Linked DNA regions of Homo sapiens: region 1 is linked to region 2. The links are contacts of gene promoters, found by promoter capture Hi-C in human tissues and cell types (Jung and others, 2019). All regions are on one chromosome and are shown on one strand. The core of a region is centred on a gene start or on the middle of the fragment in contact, and the rest is flanking DNA. Distances in the headings are between cores, read along the strand shown.

Region 1 (5,837 bases), core at 668-3,167, 280 kb after region 2:
CCAATAAATTTTTGTATTTTTTTTTTTTAAGACGGGATCTCGCTCTGTTGCCCAGGCTGGAGTGCAGTGGCGCGATCTCAGATCACTGCAAGCTCTGCCTCCCGGGTTCACGCCATTCTCCTGCCTCAGCCTCCCGAGTTGCTGGGACTACACGCGCCCTCCACCACGCCCGGCTAATTTTTTGTATTTTTAGTAGAGACAGGGTTTCATTGCGTTAGCCAGGATGGTCTCGATATCCTGACCTCGTGACCCGCCCGCCTCAGCCTCCCAAAGTGCTGGGATTACAAGTGTGAGCCACCGTGCCCGGCCAATTTTTGTATTTTTAGTAGAGATGTGGTTTCACCATTTTGGAGAGGCTGGTCTCGAACTCCTGACCTCAGGTGATCTACCAGCCTCAACCTCACAAAGTGCTGGGATTACAGGCGTGAGCCACCGTGCCAGGCCAATAAATATATTTTAAATATTTTTTTGAGACAAGGTCTCCCTCTGTCGTCCAGGCTGGAGTGTAGCGACACCATCACAGCTCATTGCAGCCTGGACCTCCCCAGCTCAAATAATCCTCCTATTTCAGCCTCCTGAGTACCTGGGACTACAGGCACGTTCCATCATGCCCAGCTAATTTTTAAAATTGTTTTTGTAGAGATGGGGCCTCACTCTGTTGCCCAGGCTGGCAGGCTGGTCTCAAACTCCAGGGCTCAAGGGATCCTCCCGCCTTAGCCTCCCAAAGTGCTGGGATGAGAGGTGTGAGCCACTGCACCCGGCCAATTTTTTTTTCTTCTTTTTTCTTTTTCTATTGAGACAGGGTCTTGCTCTGCTGCCCAGGCTGGAGTGCACTGGTGCGATCTCGACCCCCCAGGCTCAAGTGATCATCTCACCTCAGCCTCCCACGTAGCTGGGACTACAGGAGCTTGGCACTAGGCCCCGGATAATTTGTTTGTTTGTTTGTTTGTTTGTTTTGCGACGGAGTCTTGCTCTGTCGCCCAGGCTGGACTGCAATGGCAAGATCTCGGCTCACTGCAACCTCCGCCTCCTGGGTTCAAGCGATTCTCCTGCCTCAGCCTCCTGAGTAGCTGGGATTACAGGCATGCGCCACCGCGCCTGGCCAATTTTTTTAATTTTATGGATAGTGTATTTGAAAAGTCACATCGATTTTTCTCCTGGAATGTCCTCTAGATGTGCCGTAGCTTCAAGTTTTACATGTAGGTCTAATTTAGGTTGTGTGATACAATGGGTTTGCATTTAGAAGGGTCCTCTGGCAGCAGCAAGGAAGGTTTTCGGAGGGTGATAGCCTAGGGCCTGAAACTACTGAGACTTGGAGAGAAGTGATGGTGGCTTTCACTAGGTGATAGTAGTGAAGGATATCGAAATGAATTAAAATACTGGGGATGTAGAATGACTGGACTTAATGGCTTGAGGGAAGTGTCCAGAATGATTCCTGGGTTTCTTACGCACAACACTGAGGGTAGATAACTTGCTTGTACGTTTTTTGCACTTCAAATTGGTCCTCAATAAATAGTTTTTCCTTTGGGGAGGTTATGATTGAAATTTGGCCAGTCAGGGATACAGTTTTCTCAAACAACACTCTTGTATCAGTTCCCTTTTTGGGTACTGCCTGGAGCCCAGTATTGAACCCTGTCCTCCCAAGCCCAAAGACCTTTGCCTCCCATAGTACCAGGAAAGGTGCCCAAGTTCTTTTACACACAAGGTGCGCAGAGCGGCCAGCGCATGCCCAGAGAGGTCGTAAGGAGGACGACCGCCCGGAGAGAAAGGACGCACGCTTCCCGCCATTTTGTTCAGCTTGCCGGGCAACCGGCCCCTGCTGGGGACTACAAGTCCCGTAAGCCTCCGCGGCGGCACGTCCTACCCTACACTGTCCAGCCGGCTCCCTTTTTCCCCCTCCCCGGGGGCCAAGGGCTCCGGCTGCTGCCTGGCGGCCAACGGGCCAGGTAGGATTTCCGGGAGAGGCTGCTGTGGAGGCTGAGGAGGCGGCGGCGGAGATCTGGGTAAGTTCAGCGAGCAAGGGAAAGTGAGCAGGACGCGCTCAGTATCAGGCTGCGGCCTCCTCTCAGGCTGCGGCCCCTTTCTTGGCTCTGCGAGAGGGTCCCGGTCCGGGCAGAAGGTAACGGCCCGGGTCGCCGTCGCTTCGGGCCAGGGCGGGGCGGGGCCGCCGCCTCCCTCCTCGGCCCTCCCACAACGGTCCAACCCGGGCTTCTCCGCCTGAGGCAGGGCCCGCGCAGGCTCGCCCTCTCCGCCCCCCGAGACTTGGCTGGGCCCTTTTGTCTGGGCTGCGTTGCTCCCCCTTTGTGTCCGTGCATGGAGTCTCCGCCACGGGGGAGCCTGTTCCCCCGGTCCCCAACAGGGACTGCTCCCTGGGGATCCGGTTACAGTAACCGGATCGGGTCAAAGTACATTTTTCAAAACCGTCCTGCCTCAGACCTCTGCACCCCTGCTGGGCAGAACGGGGGCTTCGGAGCCAGGCGGAGTTTCTGTAAAAACCTGGAGGTTATTATTTAACTTTCAAACATCAGCCTGGGCGGCTTCAGGGCACGAAACTCCCGACGTTTTTCTTGGTGGAGAGATGAGATTAAGGAAAAGAAGCGACCCCTCTCTCCCACCCTCTACACCCCGGCTCCGGGAAACCGGGAAGGCATCGAATTTGCTGCGATGTCTGTGCAGCTCACATCTGTGATCGGTGGACCAAAGAACCAGTGGTGAATGGTAGAATGGCAGTTCACGCACCTCCCAAATCTCGGAGGAGAGTGACTTACAGGGCATCACTGATTGCTTGCAAAAAAAAAAAACCCTCCAGTGCTTCATTCGGACACTCAGCTCCTCGCTCCTTCCAACCTCTTCCTTTTCTTGTTCTTTTTAAAACAAACAGTGGAAGGAAAAAGTCCTTCAGTGGAAGAATTTGCTTTATAGAGGAACCAGAAACCCAGTGGCTTCTAGAAGTCACTTACTTTTTCGCCAAATTAAAGAAATGAATTTCGGGCGTGGTGGCGCGCGCCTGTAATGCCAACTATTCTGGAGGCTGAGGCAGGAGAATCGCTTGAGGCCAGAAGTTCGCGACCAGCCTGGGCAACACAGCAAGACCCCATCTTAAAAAAAAAAGGAATGAAGCCCGTTTAGAAATGAAGCCAGTTTAGGGGATGAGGTGTGGTAGATTCTTACCGGAAACCGCGGAACTGCGTGGATTGTGGATTCGATCAAATTTGGCTAGATAATGGTAACTGTGTATGTCCTCCTGTTGGAAGACTGCATTGCTAGAATCAGCTTAAGGTAAAATTTGTTTGTTTGTTTCATTTAAGAGACAAGAGTCTAGCTTGGTTGCTGAAGCTTGAGTACAGTGGAGAGCTCCTAGTTCACTGTAGCCTCGAACTTCTTGGCTTAAGCCATCCTTCCACCAGAGGCTCCCAGATGCCTGGGACTAGAGGCATGAGCCACTGTGCCCGACTATTTAATTTAATTTATTTATATTTATTTATTTATTTTGAGACAATCTCACTTTGTTACCCAGGCTGGAATGCAATGGCACGATCTTGGCTCACTGCAACCTCCACTTCCCAGGTTGAAGCGATTCTCCTGCCTCAGCCTCCTGAGTAGCTGGGATTACAGGTGTGTGCCACCATGCCCAGCTAGTTTTTGTATTTTTGGTAGAAACAAGGTTTCACCATGTTAGCCAGGCTGGCCTTGAACTCCTAACCTCAGGTGATCCACCCGCCTCGGTCTCCCAAAGTGCTGGGATTACAAGCGTGAGCCACCGTGCCTGGCCAATTTTTATGTATTTATTTTTTGAAATAGGGTCTCGCTGGGTTTCCCAGGCTGGAGTGCAGTGAGTTGAGCACTGCTCACTGCAGCCTGGACCTCCTCCTGGGCTCAAGCCTCTGCCTCCAGAGTAGCTGGGACAACAGACACAGGCCACCAGCGCAGCTAATTAAAAAAATTTTTAAAAAAATTTTTGTATTGATTGGGGTCCCACTCTGTTGCCCAGGCTGGTCTTGGACTCCTGGGCTCAAGTGATCCTCCCTCCCAAAGTGCTGGTATTAAACCTTAAGATAAAGAATACTGTATTTGTTTTTTGAGATAGAGTCTTGCTCTGTTGCTCAGGCTGTGCAGTGGCGTGATCTTGGCTCACTGCAACCTCTTCCTCCTGGTTTCAAGCGATTCTCCTGCCTCAGCCTCCCGAGTAGCTGGAATTACAGGCATGTGCCACCACTCCCGGCTAATTTTTTTTTTTTTTTTAGTAGAGATGGTGTTTCACCGTGTTGGCCAGGCTGGTCTGGAACTCCTGACCTAAAGTAATTTACCTGCCTCCGCCTCCCAAAGTGCTGGGATTACAGGTGTGAGCCACCGTGCCTGGCCAATAAAAAATTCTAAAGAAGGTCATTGCAAATAACCCTTTTGAAAAATAGGTTAATTCGTGTTTCAAGTCTCTGGGATGAGGACAGCCAGGAGGACCCCTTTACATGAATCAGGGAAGGTTACTGAAGTTAGATAGGTTAATTCCTGCCCTAGCCGAGTAGGCAAAATAAAGCCCTTCACCCTGTATTACTTTGTTTGATATCTCATAATGGAAGTGACTTACTCTTGAGAATCCTAGATTGTATTAGTAATACTGTATAGGGATGGTAGATCCTTAATGCAGTTCTTCAATTTTTAATCCAGCAGTGAGTGAGGGTCTTTTGTGTTTTCCTGGCTATAGTTTGAAGAAGCAACCACAGAATTGCTCTAGTTTTAATAATAAACTGGTTGGGCGCGGTGGCTCACACCTGTAATCCCAGCACTTTGGGAGGCTGAGGCAGGCAGATCACCTAAGGTCAGGTGTTCGAGATCAGCCTGGCCAACATGGTAAAATCCCATCTCTACTAAAAATATAAAAATTAGCCAGGTGTGGTGGTGGGCATCTGTAATCCCAGCTACTTGGGAGGCTGAGGCAGGAGAATCACTTGAACCTGGGAGGCGGAGGTTACAGCGAGCTGAGATTGCGCCACTGCACTCCAGCCTGGGCGACAGAGGGAGACTCAGTCTCAAAAAAAAAAAAAAACACAGAAATAATAAACTAAGAAACAGCAGTTACTATTGACTATTGCTTAATTGTACAAACATGACAATTTTCTCAATATTATTTATTTTTATGATTATTATTATTTTTTTGAGGCAAGGTCTTGTTCTGTCCCCCAGGTGGAGTAAAATGCTATGATCATGGCCCACTGTAGCCTCAACCTCTTGGGCTCAAATGATCCTCCCACTTCAGCCTTCTGAGTAGCTGGGACTACAGGTGCACACTACCACACTTGGCTAATTTTTTAATTTTTTTGTGGACACGAGGTCTCCCTGTGTTGCCCAGGATGGTCTTGAACTCCTGGACTCAAGCAGTCCTCCTACCTTAGCCTCCGAGAGTGCTGGGATTATAGGCGTGAGCCAGTGTGTCTAGCTATATATTTATTCATTTATTTTGTTTGTTTTAAACATAATTTTTTTTTTTGAGATGGAGTTTCACTCTTTTTGCCCAGGCTGAAGTGCAATGGCACGATCTTGGCTCACTGCAACCTCTGCCTCCCGGGTTTAAGTGATTCTTCTGCCTCAGCCTCCTGAGTAGCTGGGATTACAGGCATGTGCCAACATGCCTGGCTAATTTTGTATTTTTAGTAGAGACGGGAATTCACCATGTTGGCCAGACTGGTCTTGAACTCCTGACCTCAGATGATCCGCCCACCTCAGCCTCCCAAAGTTCTGGGATTACAGGCGTCAGCCATCACGCCTGGCCCATAATTTTATAATTTTTATAGAGACAGGTCTCGCCATGTTGCCCAGCCTGGTCTCAAATTCCTTGGCTC
Region 2 (6,395 bases), core at 3,738-6,237:
TATAAAGTTCACTTTTATTTTTACTGTTTTACCACTACAGAGTTTCATGGTTCAGTTGTGAAAGTTTCCCAAGTGAAAATTATTTGATTGTATCTATAACGAAAGAACATGATTTTATGTTAATTAAGTTTATTTAATTCTAATTATGTTGTCTTACGTTTAATTCAGAAATGTACAAATAAGATCAAATTCAGAATTTAAGTGTACATATCAGCCTGGTACAATATTACCTAGCCACATAAATAGCCTAAATATGTATTACTGTAACTGTACACAGTAGGTGCCTAAACAATATTTGCTGAAATAAATGTATTACAAAGAGTATTGCTAATTATTTTCTAGGGAAGAAAATGAAAACCATCTAACTGCTACAAACATTAACCACAGCTAATAAGTTAAAGTGCATCCAAAACAATCTGTAGTAAGATCTTCACGATATTAAGCACTGACTGCCTTGGGCTGATCTGTTAACTTATTTACAGTAAGTTGGCACTATTTAAACTACACATTCCTTTTCTGATTCAAAATACTATTGCATACTTAAATGGGAAAACAGCAAAGACAAATTTTAGGAAGCCCATATTTTAAATGGCTGTTTTTAAATATACTACTATAAAGAACAGAGAAAATGCCTAAATTACTTCTACATTTAATAATTAGCTACCCTGGAACTTAGGTTGATGGAACTAAATAAAAATATCAAGGATGATATGTTCCATTATTTGCTATGTTATCTGACAGTAAAAGATACCAGTATCAACAGGGTAGTTTAGAGCTTAAGCCATACACTTTGTAAAAGAATATGCACTTGTATTTTTAAGTTAATTAGAAAACAGAAAGTCCACCTATTTTCCACCTTACTATCAATATAACAATTCAACCTTTTGGTATAAACCAATTAGATGAACATCTGGGAAGCATTGACTATTCCAAAATATATATATATATATATATATATATATATATATATATATTTTTTTTTTTTTTTTTTTTTTTTTTTTTTTTGAGATGAGTCTCGCTCTGTCGCCTAGGGTGGAGTGCAGTAGCACGATCTCAGCTCACTGCAACCTCCGCCTCCCTGGTTCAAGCAATTCTCCTGCCTCAGTCTCCCGAGTAGCTGGGACTACAGGCATACGCCGCCACGCCCAGCTAATTTTTTGTATTTTAGTAGAGATGGGGTTTCACCGTGTTGCCCAGGCTGTTCTCCAACTCCTGAACTCAGGCAATCTGCCTGCCTTGGCCTCCCAAAGTGCTGACTATTCCTAATATTTTAAAATACACATTTCTATTTTGAACTATTCTTCCTCCATTTAAATCATACATGAGCTAAAGTATCCTGTTGTTACATGCAGAACAGAAATATCTTTTGGACAAACCGCTACCTAAAAAGAAGTTCCATGAGGCTTTTATTTATAATCAAAACAAAATAAATGAAGTCATGAAACAGCTTAGGCACAGCACAGAAACCATAATGCTACAAGGTACAAGTGACAAGGACTTGTTGGAGGTATACTTTGTTTCTTAAATTTTCAAAACTACATCAGCCGCCTGTGGGTGGTGGCTCACACCTTTAATCTCAGCACTTTGAGAGCCCGAGGCAGGCAGATTGCTTGAGTCCAGGAGTTTGAGATCAGCCTGGGCAACATGGTGAAACTCTGCCTCTCCAAAAAAATTTCAAAATTAGCCAGGTATGGTGGCATGAACCTGTAGTCCCAGCTATTCTGGAGGCTGTGGGAGGATGACTTCAGCCCAGGAGGTCAGGGCTGCAGTGAGCCGAGATCGTGCCACTGCACTACAGCCTGGCCAACAGAGCAAGGTTTTGTTTTGTTTTTTGTCTCAAAAAAACAAACAAACAAACAAAAAACTACATCTCCGTAAACACAGGATTCAAGGACCAAAAAACAAACAAACAAAACAAGTAAGACAAAGTACATTAGCAAATAAAATGACAAAAAAGAACCAAAAATAATCAAACCAAACCAAAATAAGAAAACTTGGTAAGCCTAAAACTAATATGCAGAAACATATTTTAAATTGAGCCCTTAGGGCTACCAACTAAAGTAGAAATTTTTGTAGAAAATCAACGGTAATTTTTTTTCCTGAGCTTTAAAAACAAACACACATTAAGCTGTCTCTGGGTTTGTTTGTTTGTTTGTTTGTTTGTTTTGGTTTGGCAGCTAGGTGGAGGGTCAGGCTTGAAGATCAGCAGCATGGAACACAACTGCTCCAATGACTACACAGGATGCTCATTTCATTTAATGGCTTCAATGCAGAATATACAGGCCAAAGTCATTTTAGAAGAACAAAAGACTCCTAAAACTTTTCAACTTCTACTTCTGCACAAAACAGTTTCTTTCTCTAGTCACTCTTTGAAGGCAAAATGACTTCGGCTTTGGATTTTAAAATCCATGTCACAGATTTCTTATCCTAATAGTCTCATTCATATATGACATATACTGAAATGACCCACTAAATACTATATTGTGCTTTCCAGCCTACAGCTTTAATGGAATTAACACTCGCTACTCTTGAGAGCATGTATAGGACTTCTTGACTTAAAAAAAAATGACCTTGGAAATTAACTGTTTAAGTTGTAATTTCTTTTTTTTTTTTAAGAGAGTCTCACTCTGTTGCCTTGTGGAGCGCAGTGATGTGATCACAGCTCACTGTAACCTCAAAATCTTGGGCTCAAGCAATCCTCCAACCTCAACCTCCTGAGTAGTTGGGACTACAGGCGCACACCACTACACCAAGCTAATTTTGTCTATGTTGCCCAGGTTGGTCTCGAACTCCTGGCCAATCCTCTGGCCTTGGCCTTCCAAAGTGCTGGGGATTATAGGTGTGAACCACCATGCCAGACCTAAACCCTAATTTCTTTATGTTTTGTAAATAAGAGTGCCACTTCTTACTAGTGACAATGGTATATAATCTTTATAACTAGATTTTATTATTTTCTATTGTTTTGAAGACAGAGTGATTTCCCATCATTTTTGGGGTTTAATGTTCTTATCTTAATCTGCATTAATTAAGCTGGCATTCCCATGGCTTAAATGAAGCCCACAAACCTGAAGGTAAGGAAGCAGCTGGAGTAAGCCATACACATTGGGGTTTGTTTTGAAGGATGGAAAATAGGCCAGGTTGGACAGAAGCTAGAGCTAGGTAGTGGGGAGGAGGTACACATAAGAAACTTTCAAAGAGGCTTCACTTAGCAGTTAGATAAGTCCTGAAAGCCAATCAGAAGGGTCCTTCTCCGTGGCTTCTAGGACTAACATGGCCAAGCTCCAAAGTCCTTTGCTAAAAACAGCTGAAGAGAGCCCAATTTTGGAATAAGCCAAGGACTATACACTCTTATATGTATATGTATCATATAATGAAGATTTTTCTATAGCTAATTAGCCAAAAGATAAGCAGGTGCTCAAAGCTGTATTTAAGTTCATACTGAAGTACTACATTTTAAAGCACAATTTATAGATTACAGAAACTGATGACACAAAAACCGCTGCAATCAAGTGCTAGATATACACTATAAACATCGGGAAAAAATAAAGATTACCCAAGCCTATACTCTAGATCACAAAATTTGGGAAAGGGAGCACTAACCATTATTAAATGCAATTCCTTCATGTTATAAATGACTTTAAACCTCTAGGGAAATTTAAGAAAGGTGCCCTAAATCTCAAAATGAGAAAATGATAGTTTTACTACAAAGGTGGAAATGGTAAGGAAAAAAAAATACAAAAGTTAGAAGAATATTCTAAGTAATGTACTTCTAAGTAATGTAATTCTAAGTAAAGTCTGGCTAATGAAGGAAGAGGAAGACAAATAGAAAACTTAATACAGTAAAAATGAAAAAATGCATATGTGCATACTAAGTTTAAAGATTACTTTGAAATTACTATAGTGAACTCTTCAGCAGACCACTTTTCGGAAACAACACAATAAATTCATAAATCTGGGGCTAATGATCTCTCCACAAATTCTGTCCTCTATCATCACAAGTGTCCTGTAAGAAGCGTCCATGCCGAAAACAGAGCTGAACGTCCCAAAATATTGGCGTTTTTGCCTCAGCTGTGCACATCCATTCTCATGGGAACACAAAACTGACAGAACTTCTTCATGACTTGTCAATTAACAAGATCGCGCCAGCCCAACTGCTAGCAGTACCGTGTGCCTGCCACCTGTTAGCTGCTCTTGAGAGAGCCCCAAAACTGAGGTAAAGCGAAGAACTAGGAACGCCTTTGTTGTACCCTAACTATGGAAGCTACCAGAGTTCAGTCTAACCCGGCGCCTTAAGGCAAAACTTCCCCCAGGCTGGGGAAGTCTTCCCATTTCGGGGCTTTGGCAAAGCTCTCCTCTAGCTAAGGACAGGCAGAAGAACCCCAGGAGAAGCACTGTCACCTACTGGTCCCAGGAGGAAGGATCAAAGCTGAAGAAAGTTGGGGGACAAGGAACTAGGACCCTAGGGAGAGGCTCAGTTTCTCGTGGTGAAGAGTGAGCACAATGAGAAGCTGGGCCGTCTCGCTAGGTGAAAGAACGCTGAGATCCCAGATCAGGGGTAGGGGAAAAGAGGTTCTAAAAGAAGGGAGGAGGAGAAAAAAGGAGAGGCAGTGGCTGAGAGAAGCGCTGAGGCGTAAGGCAAGAAACCGAGGTTGGAAAAGGACTGATGAGGCTGAGGAAAAACAGCGAGGCGACAGAGGCACGGAAGCGCGAGAAGGCTAAGCTGAGGTGAATAAGGCGAGGCCAGCGTGAAGGAAAGGGCTGAGGTGAGTGAAGCACTGCAGTGACAAGGGACAGGCGAAGAGACTCCCACCCACAAGGACCGAGGCAGAACTCTAGACCCATCCCCCTTCACGCTGTGCTCGCCCGGCTGCGCTCAGACCCTGTTGGCAGCTGAGACTCACCCAAAGGCTGTAAAAGCCCCACAACAGGACATGGAGATCAGTCCAGACCCACAGTAGAACCAATCGAGCGGAGGAAACCGCGGCGTTAGCGTGACCCGGATGCGCATCGCTAGGAACCGGAAGTAAGCGGCCAGAGTCACCTCACAATCCACACCTCGTTCCACTAGAAACCTCTGGGCGCATGTGTTGAGTCTGACCGGGCGGGGAAGCTTTTAGGCTCCGCCCACTCCGCCGGCCCGGCGAGCCACGCCCATGGCCACGCCCCTCTTAGTGCCTCGGAGACAAGCAGCTTCTGGGTGAGCGCTAGGCAGTCCTGACGGTACTACAGCCTTCACTTTTAAGGAGGTCTTTAAAAATGCGCGTAATCCCTACCTGGCTAAAAGGAACGTAAGAAGTGTTGGGTGCATTTGGTAGATTTAGAAAAACTGGGAAGGAGAATGAGTGGGAAGTTTTGGAAGACATTTGGGAGGCTAGCCCAAGGTGATCTTTTTTTTTTTTTTTTTTTGAGACGGAGTTTCGCTCTTGTTGCCCAGGCTGGAGTGCAATGGCGCGATCTCGGCTCACTGCAACCTCCGCCTCCCGGGTTCAAGCGATCCTCCTGCCTCAGCCTTTCGAGTAGCTGGGATTACAGGCATGTGCCACCACGCCCGGCTAATTTTGTAGTTTTAGTAGAGACGGGGTTTCTCCATGTTGGTCAGGCTGGTCTTGAACTCCCGACCTCAGGTGATCCGCCCGCCTGGGCCTCCCAAAGTGCTGAGATTACAGGCGTGAGCCACCGCGCCCATCCCTTTTTTTTTTTCTTTTTTTGAGACAGAGTCTTGCTCTGTCGCCCAGGCTGGAGTGCAGTGGCGCGATCTCGGCTCACTGCAACCCCCGCCTCCTGGGTTCAAGTGATCCTCCCACCTCAGCCTCCCGAGTAGCTAAGACTACCGGCGCGCACCACCACGCCCGGCTAATTTTTGTATTTTTCGGTAGAGACGGGGTTTCGCCATGTTGCCCAGGCTGGTCTCCAACTCTGGAGCTCGGTTGATCCCTTGGCCTCCCAAAGTGCTGGGATTACAGGCGTGAGCCCCAAGGTGATCTTTTTATCCCCAAATTTAGTTTATTCTTAATATTATATTAGGCTTACAATTCACTTCGTGCACACTGTTTTCGGAAGCAAAATTCTTAAATGTTTCGTTAATTTTAAATTACAACCCAAGTATGGGCTAGAAGCAAGGTTGAATTCAGGCTTTGTGGAGACTTGACGTTTATTCAATTTGGGGGCCCTCTTTAAAATAATCAAGGCCAGGCACAGTGGCTCATGCCTGAAATCCTAGCACTTTGGGACGCCGAGGTCGACCGGTTGCTTGAGCCCCGGAGTTGGAGATCACCTGGGCAACAAAATTAGACCCTGTCTCTACAAAACAAACAAAGCAAAACAACAACAAAAAAAACCCAGAAAAATTAGCCAGGTGTGGTGGCACGCACCTAACTGAGCCCAGGAGGTAGAGG

Evidence for each region. The method cuts DNA at HindIII sites, captures the fragments that hold promoters and counts their contacts. A contact is called where the count stands out against the background at its distance.
Region 1: the fragment with the promoter of PHACTR4 here is called in contact with the fragment with the promoter of EYA3 in region 2 in 1 of the 25 tissues and cell types used here (hippocampus).

Annotation. Positions count from the first base shown.
Region 1 is chr1:28,367,823-28,373,659 of GRCh38, forward strand. It overlaps PHACTR4 (phosphatase and actin regulator 4), which reads left to right and starts at 1,918. Exons shown (of 14, transcript NM_001048183.3): 1 at 1,918-2,003. RefSeq lists enhancers at 1,090-2,045, 1,696-1,990 and a silencer at 2,072-2,291. The HindIII fragment of the contact is 16,246 bases long and covers 1-5,837 here.
Region 2 is chr1:28,083,623-28,090,017 of GRCh38, forward strand. It overlaps EYA3 (EYA transcriptional coactivator and phosphatase 3), which reads right to left and starts at 4,988. Exons shown (of 18, transcript NM_001990.4): 1 at 4,902-4,988. RefSeq lists enhancers at 4,588-4,647, 4,858-4,927. The HindIII fragment of the contact is 16,525 bases long and covers 1-6,395 here.